Regions from separate parts of the Homo sapiens genome. Here region 1 is linked to region 2. The links are contacts of gene promoters, found by promoter capture Hi-C in blood cells and fetal thymus (Javierre and others, 2016). All regions are on one chromosome and are shown on one strand. Each heading gives the region's core, a stretch centred on a gene start or on the middle of the fragment in contact. The rest is flanking DNA. Distances are from core to core; before and after follow the strand shown.

Region 1 (7,834 bases), core at 3,684-6,183, 380 kb before region 2:
AGGCTAAGTGGCTGCATGAATTTCCAAGAGTGATGAGGTTCTGGAATGAACCATTAAAATTTCATCAAAAGTAGGCCACAGCTGGAGGTCAGAGGAAAAGATTACATGAGGTTATACAATCCTAAAAGAACAATATTTCATCTTTGGTTTTTAGTGAACCAATTATTTCCATGGTTATAAGGAAGCTTCCTATATTTCTAAATAAAGCACCTTAAACACAAAATACCCAAAATCGAATTCATGTTTTTTCTCTTGGAATTTTCTCTCTCTTTAGAGAGGAATCGTTTTAGTTGCCAATACCATTATCCTCCTAGTCACCCAAACTGGAATTTCGTTTCTGTATAGAACTGAGGACAAAACTTTCTCTGCCATCTCTTTCCATGGAAGAGTATCCTGAGTTTCTAGGTAATTCATGTTAAAGTTGTTACCATTTGCAACTATGTATCTGTGTAAAAATTATCTTGCCACTATACAAGAAAAAAAACTCAGATGTAAAAGAATTGCAATGCTGAGGCTAGTATAAGATACAATTGCCATCCATAATCTCTGTATCAAATTTGCATTCAAACATCATAATGTTCATTGCTTTAATTTATAAAATAAATTTATCCTAATTAAATTTCCTTTTAATCTAAACCTAATTTCTATATTAAAAAGAATATCTTTTGGCCAGGCGCAGTGGCTCACGCCTGTAATCCCAGCACTTTGGGAGGCTGAGGCAGGCGGATCACGAGGTCAGGAGATCGCGACCATCCTGGCTAACACAGTGAAACCCTGTCTCTACTAAAAATACAAAAAAAAATTAGCTGGGCGTGGTGACGGGCACCTGTAGTCCCAGCTACTCGGGAGGCTGAGGCAGGAGAATGGCGTGAACCCGGGAGGCGGAGCTTGCAGTGAGCCGAGATGGAGCCACTGCCCTCCAGCCTGGGCGACAGACAGAGACTTTGTCACAAAAAAAAAAAAAAAAGAAAAGAAAAGAAAAGAAAATCTTTTAATGTTGGAATCCCATGTAAATTTTTTTTTCTTTTTTTTTTGAGATGGAGTTTCACTCTTGTTGCCCAGGCTGGAGTTCAATGGCACAATCTCCACTCACTGCAACCTCCACCTCCCAGGTTCAAGTGATTGTCGTGCCTCAGCCTCCCAAGTAGCTGGGATTACAGGTGCATGCCACCACACCCTGCTAAATTTTTTGTATTGTTAGTAGAGACAGGGTTTCACCATGTTGGCCAGGCTGGTCTTGAACTCCTGACCTCAGGTGATCTGCCCACCTCGGCCTCCCAAAGTGCTGGGATTACAGGCATAAACCACCACACCCAGCCGGAATGCCATATAAAATTTAATTTGGGAAAAATGTCTGCTGCTATAATTATGTGGAAAAAAAGTCATTTATCTCTAGAATAAAAAGCAAGATCACAAGACAATAGAATGACTCTACTTGCCTCTTCAGCCCATCCCTTGCTACTCAGTCACATCACACATAGTCTCTGGAAAATCATCTTTTTTCTCATTCCATTCCTCCTTCTGCCATCCTCTGTCTACAGTATCCCTTCGCCTGCACTTTAGGCCCACAAACCCTTGAAGATTCAATTCAGATCTCACCAAAAAGTATTTTCTGGCCCACCAAGCCCTGGCCAGAAGTACCTCTTTCAAACATCTCTTACGTTAAACAGCATTATGGAACACTATTGTTTTGGACTGAGCTTCTGCACTAGGCCCCAAGGGACCAGACCAGACCAAAATGGAGTCACTTGTGCTAAATGCCACTTCATCAAAATGAAACTTTAAGGAAGTCGATAGATCTCAAAACAGATCAGTTTTTCCTGAAAACTGGAGATTGCAGTCTGAGTCAGCTATAATAAGGACACTTCCGTTTGCTTAAACTCATATAAAAAAGTAACCTGAAGTAACCTAATGTTTACCAGTCAAGCTTTTTTTTTTTCTATTGTTCTGTTTCCTTGTTCCCACCTTGTAAAACCCACTGTTCAGCAGTTGCTCGTGAGAGCTTTCAGTACATTTTATGGAATGAAGGCTGCCCTGATTTATAAATCCCAAATAAATGCCCATCTTTGATCTATAACTAAATTTGTTGTAATTTTGTCTTTTGACACTTAAAATAACATATGTTTTCAATTTTTATATTTACATTTCCCACTAAAGTGAGTGTCTGGAGGAGAGATTGTGCTAGAGATAGCCTAGCACATGGTGGACATGCAGAAATATTGGAAGGAAGGAAGGAAGGAAGGAAGGGAGGGAGGGAGGGAGGGAGGGAGGGAAAGAGGGAGGAGAGGAAAGAGAAAAAGAGAAAGAAAGGGAGGGAAGGAGGAAGACAATTTCATATTAAAGGGCTCGTAAATGAGGCAAGTTTTGCTGTCATGGCATAATTCGAAGGAAATATTAGCTGAGCTATATCTCAAAATTATGTTTAATATCCAGCTTTCAGCAAACTGAATTTCCCACCATAAGATATTCTTTACTGGGGCAGGGGAGGGAGGCCAAGAATTAGTACTCTGAAAGCAACCATTTAAGATGGAATACTCCTCTGTATCTAAAATATGACAGATGTCTCCAAGTCTTCAGACCGGGTTAACCAGAGGAGAGAAGGGCCTGGGAAGAAAAGACAAAAAAGTAGGCAGTGAGACCCATTTCATTCCAGTTTCCCAGAGATGGTGGGAGAGAAAGGACAGAACAGTACAGACTCATCAGGAACAATTCAGTGCCCAGTTACGACATGTTTAAACACTGCCTTTTTTGTGTTTTTTCGGCAATCCTGAGATGGGAGGGTGCCACACATTTCTTCATTTGGAGAAACTGAGCTCCTAAAAGATTAGATAGAAGTAAAACTGGTAACAGCAGCCAAACTTTTCAATAGTCGTCTCTCTCCTAGAGCAATGCTCTGTGGAAGGGAGAGAAAACTATGTTGCCTCCCTAATGATAATGTGCTGATTCTGTTTGTTTAACTAAAGCTGCACCAGATTAGCAGACCATAATTACAGCTAAAATCCTTGTCTCTGATACAGTTGACAGAATGTCTGTTTCACTGAGCTGAACTCCCAGGAAAGGCTTTACTCAAGGTTAAGCCAGGCTGCCTGAAAGCAATAGTGCTGTTTCAGTGCTACACTGGATACTTTATCTGAGCAGCGGGATTTCCTACACTTGGGTTTCACATGGTTTACTTTGATTTCTTGGGGCGATAAGGACGTTTGCTCCTCTTTGAAAGGTTGTGTTAGTGGCCATACCATTGTAAAACCTTAAGAACTTTCTTTTGTGTCTGGATATGAAGATATCTGCCTTTTTCTTGATATACAACTTTACTAGGACTTCTTTTAGGGAAATCCCCCCTCCATCCCCCAGTTCTTTCCTTGCCTTTCAGCTTTGCAGAACGCAATGAAGTCTGTCATTAATAATCTTTCCTTGACCAGGCGCAGTGGCTCACAACTGTAATCCCAGCACTTTGGGAGGCCAAGACGTGTGGATCACCTGAGGTCAGGAGTTTGAGACCAGCCTGGCCAACATGGCGAAACCCCTTCTCAACTACAAAAACAAAAATTAGCCCGGCGTGGTGGCGGGTAGCTGGAATCCCAGCTACCCAGGAGGCTGAGGCAGAAGAATCGCTTGAACCCGGGAGGCGAAGATTGCAGTGAGCCGAGATCCGGCCACTGCACTCCACCCTAGATGACAAGGGTGAAACTCCATCTCAAAATAATAGTAATAATAAATCTTTCCTTTATCTAGTCAACTTTGAATGTTATGCTTAATTCCTTGAGACCTAGAAATGGAATTCACTGTGTTTGTTTGATCACTGGTGGTTTTCTATAGTGGATCGAGGAATGTTCTCACCTCTTGCCAGAATCTTTTAAATAGTCCTGCTCTCTTCTCTGTCAGGTCGCTTCTCTATTCACTCTCATCTACTTTGTGAATCATAAGGCAAATTGTCAATGAATTTGACTAAAATTTCAAGAAATAAATCAAGGTGAGAAAAGTAAGCTGACAACAGAGTTGAGAATAAAAGGGGAAGTATTTGACTGGGTCTGTTTTGCTTCCCCGCCCAAAACCATCCCAGACGTTCCTTAAATAGAGCCCACAGTTTGTGGGCTTTCTAATGAATAGTGGCCAAGAGGCAGCCTCACATTTGAGGCATGCTATTACCATTTTTTCTTCATTCCCTCTCCTTAATTAGGGTCTTTAAAGGGAGGCTGCCCTCAGATTCTGACAAACAGTATTAGCTTCCTCATAATGCAATGCCTGATCCTGGAGCTATTTTTCAGGATGGTTTGCACTGAGTCTGTGACATTGTCTATATTTCTAGAATGCAGGAGGAATACCTCAACAGAGAATTAGCTGTGGAGGTTCTAAAAAGCCTATTCCTGAAGGCCTGAAGAACTGATTTTAATAACCCATAATAATACGGGAGGGAGATAGAGTTGACTAATTTTCAGTTTCACAGTTTGGCTAATGCCTACAGTAAGATGTATTTTACCTGTACCAAACACACACACACCAAAAAATTCATGAAACAATATTTATCCCTTTTCCATGCAATTCCTTCTATTTTCCATTCTAATTTATTTCAGTTTCTAAATGCAAACCTCCACCCACTGAATTGATTCTCTCACACTAAAGAGTGGCAACCCACTGTTTGAAAAGCACTCAATGGGATGCCCTTTATTTTTCTAACCCTGTAATTCAATATAGAGAGACTCTGAATTGAGGACAAGCCTGATGAGTTTGAGGTATGGAATAAAGGAATCTGATCGGCTCCGGGTTTGTTGTGTTTTTAAATCTTCCTGTGTGTTCATTCTCTTCACCACAGAGAGGACTCTATTATCTTTGCTCAAAGAGCAGACAGTGCTCTAGCTGTTTTCCCCTGCTTAGCTTTGATCCCTGCAGCCATGCTCAGCCCTTCCCCCAAGCCCTCCCTTCCAGATGGATTGAGGCTGTTGAGACTCCAGGGGTGTTCGGGGCTGGGAGCCTGCTGAGTGTTCCCTGTTCCCACCTCCAATCTGCTCCATCCTCCAGCTGCATTTCATTCCGGATCTACCAGGTTAATGGGATTATCGTTCTTCTCTGTTATTCTGTTATTTCATATAGGGTGAATCAGTTTGTTCCTGGGACAATTTTTAGATGGTTGCTGAGATGACAAAAATGGATGGGGATTTTATTTTAGGAATAAGTGTTCTTCATCAGCCAGGATTTAATCTGGGAAGAATTTATTCACTCTCAAATGGGTTACTTTTTGAAGTGACTTAAAAATAAGATTTTTTTGGCTGGGTGTGGTGGCTCACACCTGTAATCCAGCACTTTTGGAATCTGAGGCAGAAGGATTGCTTGAGCCCAGGAATTCAAAACCAGCCTGGGCAACATATTGAGACCCAGTCTCTATTATTTAAAAAAAAAAAATTTAAATAAGATTGTTTTATCAGATAAAAGCAAAGCATACCTTAAGGCACAACTCATGTTTTAATGCCTATATCATCATCGAATCAACCATACAACATTTTAGCTTCAAATTTTAATTTTGGTTAGAAAGATAAAGTGATAGACTGATTATATCATTTATTTTATTCATTATATTCAACAACATTTGCTCAGTACTTATTGGATACAGAGCACATTTATTGACCTCAAGATATCTAGACCTTTAGAAGGGAGTTTTTTTTAAATGCCTACAGATAGCCATTATATAAAATAAGATTTTAATAAGTGACTATACACAGTATAGTTCATAGCCTAATCATAGTATCTCCTCCTTTTCAGAACTTGTAAGAGTGAAAAGAGAAATTACTCATTCCTAGTGTATCTGTTTTTTCAGGACATGAGATTGCCAAATTTCTGTATTCTTCATTTTAATTAAATGCATGATTGATTGACTGAATGGATGCTGACTGTCTATTTGGTGCCATGTGCTATAAATGTGATGAAATGATCTTCCTATTGATCTTTCTTTGGTTTCTTGATGTTTGTCTCAAAAGAATTGACTTCCCAATACCTGGAACGCATGAGGGTGGAGAGAGACTGAAAAATGGAAAGAAAGAGGCATGAAATAAGGCTACTGGGGACTCGGGTTTTTCCTTCCTCTCTGATTGTCCAAATCCAATAGAAATATAAAGTGAGGCTGGGTGCGGTGGCTCATGCCTGTAATCCCAGCAGTTTGGGAGGCCAAGGTGGGTGGATCACCTGAGGTCAGGAGTTTGAGACCAGCTTGGCCAACATGGTGAAACCCCATCTCTACTAAAAATGCAAAAAATTAGCCAGGAGTGGTGGAACACACTTGTAATCCCAGCTACTCGGGAGGCTAAGGCAGGAGAATCGCTTGATCCTGGGAGACAGAGGTTGCAGTGAGCCGAGATCACACCACTGCACTCCAGCCTGGGCAATAGAGCAAGACTCCATCTTGGAAAAAAAAAAAGACATATAAAGTGATATAAAATATAAAATTTTAAACTATAGTAGCTACAATTGAAAAAGTCAAAAGAAACATAAAATTTATTTTTAACAACATATCTTGTACAATCTAATATATCTAAAATATTATCTTTACAATGTGAAATCAACATAAAAAACATTAGTGAGATATTTTACATTCTTTCAGGTATTTTTGGACTATTATCTTCAAAACCTGGCATGTATTCTTCACTAACAGCACATCTCAATTTTGATTAACCATATTTCTTGAGTTCAGTAACCACAAATCACTAGTGGCTGTCATATTGAACAACATAGCCTAGATAAAGAAGCAAAAGTCAAGGAAAATCTAGATAGTTAATAAATTTCTTTAATATTTAGAGGAAGGGACTCTTACTTCATGGGGTAGGAGGAAACCTGAAAACCAGTTTTCTCTTTCTGCTGATGGAGAAATGGGAGTTGCCAACTCAAGATCCACTCCTTTCTCTTCCAGCCTCTCAGACGTGGGGAAATGAGATAGAGCTGGAGCTGAACCTCTCCTACTTCTCTCCAGCACCCCAGAATTAAATCTGCTCTGAGGAAAATAAAGGCAACTCTACAGTCCTCACATTAGTATCATGACTTGCAGTTGATAAATGCTTTCATGTACAATATATCATTGGATATTTAATCATACTGTGACGTGGTCAGTCGAAGTATTACTATTCTCACTTTATAGATGAATGATCTGGGCCTCAGGGAGATTAAATGGCTTGCTCCAAAGTAGCACAGTTAGTATCCAAGTGTTTTGAAATTTAACCTAGTGTATGTCTCACTAAACCAGAGCTGCCTGGCAAAAGGAAGTTAAGAAAATATTTACAGAAGTATGATTTTTTTTTCTTCTCTGGACACATTTCATCTACTCCACACCCGCCCCCCACAAAAAATAAAAGAAAAGAAAAAAACCACTGGTGATCATTTTGCAGAAATAACCTCTTGGCCAATTGAGCTTTTAACTGGGTTTTTGTATTTTTTTTTAAGTTGGACCTCATTGTCTAGTGTAGCAATTTAGAACATCTAATTATTGACAGCAAGTCAGCATATTACAAAGGCAGAGTTTTTGCATTGGCTCTGAAATGTGTTGCAATCATTTTTGTCTGGGAAAACAAACAAAAGTGGATAGGCAGCATGGTTGTTACATGAGATGCTGGCTGAGTCCCAGGCCCTAGGACATTGGCTTACCTACCAACAATACCTCCCTTTCAGGCGATGCCAACTGTTTTATGAGAAGATCACAGTTCTCTGGAAGTGAGCTTTTGTGTTTTGCTCTAATCAGCAGGATCCAACTTTACTACTGTCATGGAGGGAATTACAGTAATTCTACCAACTTTTGAGGCAACCTTCTTCTGACACTGTGTGAAACAGACTGAAAAGACTCTAAAGATGGAGAGAG
Region 2 (6,835 bases), core at 4,233-6,732:
CACCTGTAATCTCAGCTTCCTGGGAGACTGAGGTGGGAGAATTGCTCAAGGTCAGCCTAAGCAACATAGTGAAACCCTTATTTTAATAAAATGAAGAAAGGAAAAAAAGCTAAACAAAGCTAAGCTAGCTTAAAAAAAAAAGGTTTTTTTTCCTCTATGGAAAAGAAAGCAAGCCAATTATAGGAAGAGAGAAATGCTCTAAGAATTATTTGTACACTATTTTGGCACAAGATGAAAACTGATAGTATGAACCAACAGTATTGAAACCCTGGATCTCTTCCTGCTTAGGTCTCACTTTGGGCTTTGTTACCTTACAGTTGAGTTTCATTACTAGCTCCTGACCACCCTGGGCTGCCTTCCTCTTTGCCATTCCTTAGGGAATGGTAGTGAGTTGGTCATTAAATATCTTTAGAGATTTTAGCAGTTTGAACTATGATGCATATTAGAGTATTTGATCACTAATATGTATGAAAAAGTTCATAGTGTCTTAGGGTCAAGGCTGTAAGTATTTAGGAAGTTTATGCACCTGTCTTCTAATCTGAGAAGCAGACAATTTATTTTAATGGTGAATTAGTCCATTCTTGCACTGCTATAAAGAAATACCTGAGACAGGGTAATTTATAAAGAAAAGGGGTTTAACTGGCTCACAATTCCGCAGGCTGTACAAGAAGCATGGTAGCATCAGCCTCTGCGGAGGCCTCAGGGAACTCACAATCAGGGCAGAAGGCAAAGAGGGAGCCAGCACCTCAACTGACTAGAGTAGGAGGAAGAGAGTGAGGGGGGGAGGTGCTACACACTTTTAAACAACCAGATCTCATGATAACTCACTCACTGACTATCATGAGAACAGCACTGAGGGGATGGTGCTAACCCATTCATGTGAATTCCGCCTCCATGATCCGATCACCTAATACCAGTCTCTGCCTAGAACACTGGGGATTACATTTCAACATGAGATTTAGGTGGGGACACAGATCCAAACCATATCAAATGGTGAAGCATAGGTTAAAAAAAAATCAACCTTGTGAACATTAAAAAATATCTGAGTCCTCAAAGTGTGTTTCTCAGGTCCTTAAAGCATATCACCTGTGGCTTGGAAGTACATAAAATGTAGGCTCCTCTTTCTTTTTCATTATTGTAAAGTCAGAGAAAAAGCCAACTTAGAGCCATGCCCACAGTACAAAATCTGTTCAACAAGATTAGATTGTCTTTTGTTATTTCTTCCTTCCTTTGTCTTCATTTTATAAACGTATGCATGCACACAGCTTTTAAACAAGAGGCTAATTGATTAGGAAACCAGTGTTGATTTGATGTAAGCAACAATCCAAAAAGTAGAAAATATTATTATTGTTTACTACAAATGTATGGACTCAAAACTAGCTTAACTGTTATTATTCCTCAAGAGAATTTATTTTTACTCAGCCTCTTCTCGGAGAAGAGTGCTTTAGACCAAAGCTAGCAATTATAAAGCTAAGAAATCAGGCAACTGCAATACTACCAAACTACAAAAAATTTACACTAAACTAGTAAAGTTAAATGTCATTTTTAAAAAGCCCCTCTTACATTCTAGTCTATTGACAGGCATTGTGTTGGGAACTTGGTAGAGGAAAGAAAACTTCAAAAATATTTTAAAAGATTTACCGACAACAAATATACCTTGTTATTTTTCTAGTATGTAATTATTATTATGACTTTTTTCCCCCACTGATTTCTAAAGACCCGTATACTGATATAAAAACTAAAATTTTGTGCAATTCAAGATCCTCATTTCCCTCCTCTTTTCTAAAATAATTTTTTTTTTTTTGAGACAGAGTTTTGCTCTTGATGCCCAGGATGGAGTGCGATGGCACAATCTCAGCTCACTGCAACCTCCACCTCCTGGGTTCAAGCGATTCTCTTGCCTCAGCCTCCTGAGTAGCTGAGATTACAGGCATGTGCCACCATGCCTGGTTAATTTTGTATTTTTAGTAGAGACGGGGTTTCTCCATGTTGGTCAGGCTGGTACCGAACTCCCAACCTCAGGTGATCCGCCTGCCTTGGCCTCCCAAAATGTTGGGATTACAGGCATGAGCTACTGTGCCGGCCTACAAAAATCTTAAACAAAAAAGTTGTAATACACTAGCTGATCACTGTAGTGAAAATGAAAATGCGTATTTGTGAGAGCTGAGAAATGACACCAGATAGAGAAGAAATTATTTGACTCTAATTTTTCTTACAAAGATTAAATTGGGATTTTAATATATAAAACCTTGAATATACATAGAATATTAAACGAAATAGTTCTAATTCAAATTGAGAATTGTCTTTTACACTGAAGGGAACTATGATTTCAAAAACAAAGGACTTATTCCATGCTTACATGCTGAGATATTATCAGAGCTGAAATGTTAAGAGATGGTACCTAAGGTAATATTTGTATATTCTCTATATAATGACTGAGAACCAGTTAAAAGGCTTATTTTAAAAAGCTAGAAAAGCAATTACGAAAATTTAGGGTTCTGTGGAAAAATTCGATCATGGCATGAACTCCATTAATGATGATTTGCCAGCAAACACTGGTTAGAAAAAGCTGGCTGAGAGAATAGCAAGGATAACCAATTAGGATTAGAACATCAGCCCTATTGCTATAAAATAACTATTGACAGTAGATCAATGGTATTAAGATCACATATACTAGAACCAGACTGCCAGGCTTTAAAGTCCAGGACCAACAGTTATGAGCTGTGTGACTTCAAACTGTATTTCTTAGGTCGCCAAGGTTCAGTTCTATCACATTTAAAATAGAAAATGACAGTAGTCATTCCAAAGCTATCTTGAGTTAAATAAGATAATCCACATAAGGGGTTTAGCACAGTGCCTGGCACATAACAACAGCTTGCCATCACCACTACAGCAACCCTGGGCAGTCCAACTTTTTGGCTGTTTCCTTAAATGTAAAATACAGGGTTTGGACTAGATAATTTCTAATGTCTTTACTCATCTAAAATTAAAATTCTACAATGTATCAACAATATACAAGCCAACTCTATTTCCAAAGAACATAAATTTGGATTTTCACCCCAGCATGATTTAAGTACTGTAAAAGAAACTTATTTTTAAGATATCCTTTTATTTTTATTTAATTTTTTAGAGATGGGGTCTTGCTATGTTGCCCAAACTGGACTTGAACTCCTAGGCTCAAGCAATCCTCTCACCTTAACCTCTGGAGTAGCTGAGATTGTAGGAACACACCACTGTTCCTGTTATGTCATCTTTTGAAATTAGCTATAATCACTACATTTATTAAAGCTGAAGTTATAGATATTCTATGTAATCCACAAGAAATCCATAATCTTCCATCACATACTGTTTGGTGACCATAATAATTTCTGAATAACAAGTCCTAACAGGAATTTCAAGGTATATAATCCCCCACTATATTTTTTTAAACAATAAGAACATTTCATACCCCATACTTAGTAAACAGAAAATAAAGATCATGAAAAATTTCAAATATATAATACAGAAAAAAGGAAAGAACTATTTTGAAACTGTCCAAAATCTAGAGGTTTAATAAAGTCTCTCTACTGATATGTTACAACTCAAAACTCAAATTACAGGCCAAATTTTTTTTGCAGGAATATTAAGGTTTTTTTTAGTATGACTCATAAATATCTAAACCAAAAATCAATTGTAATATGACAACACTAACTGCACCAACCCAAATAAATCCTTCCAATAGGGCTTTTTTTTGGGGTTTCTTTTTGGATTTGGAGAATTTTTCTTCATATATCTTAGGGACATTATTAAAAAAATTTTAAAAACCTTTTCAGGTTTTAAAAATTACCAACAGTGTGTGTGATCACTGAAAAGAGGTTAATCTAAAAATTTTAAAGTATTTTTCCAGATAATAAGATCATACTGGTGAGAAAAGAGTTCGGGCTCATCTCACTCAAATACTTGCATAATAGGCTCGAAAGAATAAAAAAATTGTTATGTTACTTCTTAATATAAAAAACACACAGGTCTGTTAAAATCTGACAATTCAATAAGCTCTCAAACCAGAAAACACGTTTCCCAGTCAACACTCATACTTATTTCTGTATTAGGAAAAATGGGGTTGTTGCAGGGGTCTTTAAAAAAAAAAGATTTCTCTTAAATTCGTAACTCTGTTAACTGCACCTTCATTTCCAGAAACCTTATCTTTAACAAATCTCTACACTATTCATACTTAGCACAATTTCCAATCATTGAAGACATTTTAGTTTTACCTTACAATCAGTACAAAGCAGCTGTGTTAAATTCATTCCATAAGATCAAAACTATACTGTGTCCTTACCCTCAATATTTAGCTCAAAACAAATGTGGCAGAAGGAGAGTGTTTCTTTGTCTGTTCCCAGTTTACAAACACTGCAAATGTTGTCATCATTCAAATCAATGTTTACAAACTGCTCCTCTTCGTTCATAGTGCCCCTATTAAGAAACAGAAAAGGAAAGTTACACAATTTCATGAACCTGCCTTTGGGGTAGTTCCCTTTACTGGGAACTTCTAGGAAATAAGGATGCTGTTCAGCTCATTTAAAGCAAAAGCTCCATCAAACAAGCATCGCCATACTTGCACTCCAACATTGCACTTTTCCTGTGGAAAGACACAAAGCTAGTAAAACTTAAAGCCAGGCCATAGGTGACACTATGTCCGTGTCTTTTTTGTCCTATAGTTGATTGGGTTAGTGGCACCTGAAGGAAAGAGATTTGCCGGCATTCTAGTCCTCCTCCTTCGTCCCCCAACCTCGAATAATCAGAGGGCTTAGCAGCGAGGCCTTTTCAGCTACCAGGTTCTGTCAACCTAGTTAACGCTGTGAGAAACAGGAAAAACGACCTGCACGGGACACTGCTTTGCTAACTTCATTGGGGGAACCTCAGATGCGCCTCGCGAACTCGGAGTTGCGAAGCTTCGCATCGAACGGAGATCGGCGGCAGCAAAATGCACGTGGGTACCGAATACCCGGGGAGGGCGTCCCGCCGTGTCCGGGGCAACTACACCGAAGGCCGAGCGGCGGCTTCACGGTACCGGCCGGGCACCGCCGGAGGGGCCCAAGCCGGAGCTGGGAGAGCCGCGGCATCCTGGAGCCCGGCGGGCGGGAGAGCCTCGTCCCATCGCTCCGGGATTCCTCCCAGAGGGAAGAAAGCGTCCGAGGGCCACGGCGGCCGGTCCGCCCAGCCTCAGCGTCTCGGGGAGCCGGGTCCTGGCCCGGCCTTCGGCGTTGGGGGCGCGCGGCCGCCCCCAGGGAGTCGCGGACCCAAGTCCGTCTTTCCGTCGGTCTGTCCGTCGGGGCGCCTGGCGCGCAGCAGCGCGAGGGGCCACGGGGCTCGGAACTCGAAGGAGGCGGAACGATGGGACTGGGGGTCGGGGCTCAGGTGGGATGGGAGCAGGGCTGCGGGGTCTTTACCGTCCGGCTCCGCGGGCCACCACCGCCGTTCCGTGCGGCTCGGGTTCCTCCACTATTGTTTCCGGCCGCAGCAGAGGCGGCCGCCGCGCGCCTGGCCCCGCCCTCTCCCGCCGGCTCCATCCCGTAAAGGCTGCGGGGAGGGTGGCGCGGCCGCGGGCACACCTGCGCGCTCGCCGGGCTGCTGTGGGTCCGCCCCTCCGCTCCTGCACCGACGCCGCACCTTCGCCTCGAGTTCTCCTGTGATCCCGTGTTTCCTGGCCGGAGTTTCTTACCGTTCTCTGGAACGTAGCTCCTCACACACCCCTCCTCGAGGTGCGTAGATAGACGAATCCGTTCCACCTCTCCCTTCAGCCTAGTGCAAACTACTGCCCCGGGGCGGGGGCCGCAGGCGGCGGGGGTAGGAAAGCCGCGGGTGGATGGCAGAACGGGAGAGGTGCGTGGGTGGCACTTTGACTTCAGGAGAAAGAAGCAGAATACTGTCACTGAACTTATAGTTAAGTGCCAGTTGAAGTATCTAACGAAGGAAAAGTTCATATTCAGGTGTCATGATAGAGGCATAATTTCAAATACAGAATCTTTTCAAATACATTATTTGTTGTGGGGCGCCCCTGCCCCCAATATGGTACATCCCTCAACGCCCACGGGAAAAATCCCGAAGCCCCACCTCTTATTTTTAGGTCCTGCTTGGTTCTCAAATTCTTTGCTTGACTTTTGTTTAAGCTATTCTGTTTTTTTTAGGGTATGGTTCTTGCAGTACTTTCACTTACATTTTCCATTGTAGTCCTCACAGTAACCTACAGAGGAGAAACAGGAACTGTTCTCTCATGTTGCAGCCTACGAGTAATTGACCCAGGTTATCACAGTTGGTTAGAAAAAGGCTGGGACTTGAACCGAAGGCTACTGACCTAAGATCAATGTTATTTTCTACAGCATCATATGTATGTGTTCTGGTTGCACTCACATAGAAAGAGGGCTAGCCTGTCAATCTACATGTAGGCATTCTTGAACTGATGGTTAGGAATGGACTGTCTAGATCTTGGAAACTTCTGGGCCAAATTAGCACTCCAGTTATGGCATTTGTGCCTCGCAGGAGCGATCTGTGTCCTTGCCACCTAAATTGTAGTAGATGAACAAACAACATTGACATTACTTGGTTTCCTGTTAGAAATGTAGAATCTCAGGCCCCACTCGAGATTTCCTAAATCAATACTTGCACTTTAACAAGACCGCCAGGAGATTCCTATGTTCATCGAAGTTTGAGATGCACTAATTGAAATGAAAAGCCTGTGCTTTTTCTCTTCGAATTTCTCATTCTAGGTAACTACGACTAAGATACCTTGCATGTTGGATTCTACCCATCTTTTCAATAAAAAGCATTCTTTTAAAAAGGACTCTTTTAAAGTGAT

The links. Contacts are between HindIII fragments. The CHiCAGO score rates a contact against its expected background, and 5 or more counts as called.
Region 1: the fragment with the promoter of LINC01549 here is called in contact with the fragment with the promoter of C21orf91 in region 2 in 2 of 17 cell types (M0 macrophages and M1 macrophages); the score reaches 7.2 in M0 macrophages.

The regions. Positions count from the first base shown.
Region 1 is chr21:17,433,957-17,441,790 of GRCh38, forward strand. It overlaps LINC01549 (long intergenic non-protein coding RNA 1549), which reads left to right and starts at 4,934. Exons shown (of 4, transcript NR_037586.1): 1 at 4,934-5,041; 2 at 7,718-7,834. RefSeq lists an enhancer at 4,563-5,146. The HindIII fragment of the contact is 14,439 bases long and covers 1,926-7,834 here.
Region 2 is chr21:17,813,874-17,820,708 of GRCh38, forward strand. C21orf91 (chromosome 21 open reading frame 91) reads right to left here and starts at 5,483. Exons shown (of 5, transcript NM_001100420.2): 1 at 5,430-5,483; 2 at 4,319-4,452. The coding sequence starts at 4,445. The region is part of intron 2 of LOC124900465 (a long non-coding RNA gene); the gene reads left to right. RefSeq lists a silencer at 5,098-5,877 and an enhancer at 6,128-6,177. The HindIII fragment of the contact is 2,618 bases long and covers 4,930-6,835 here.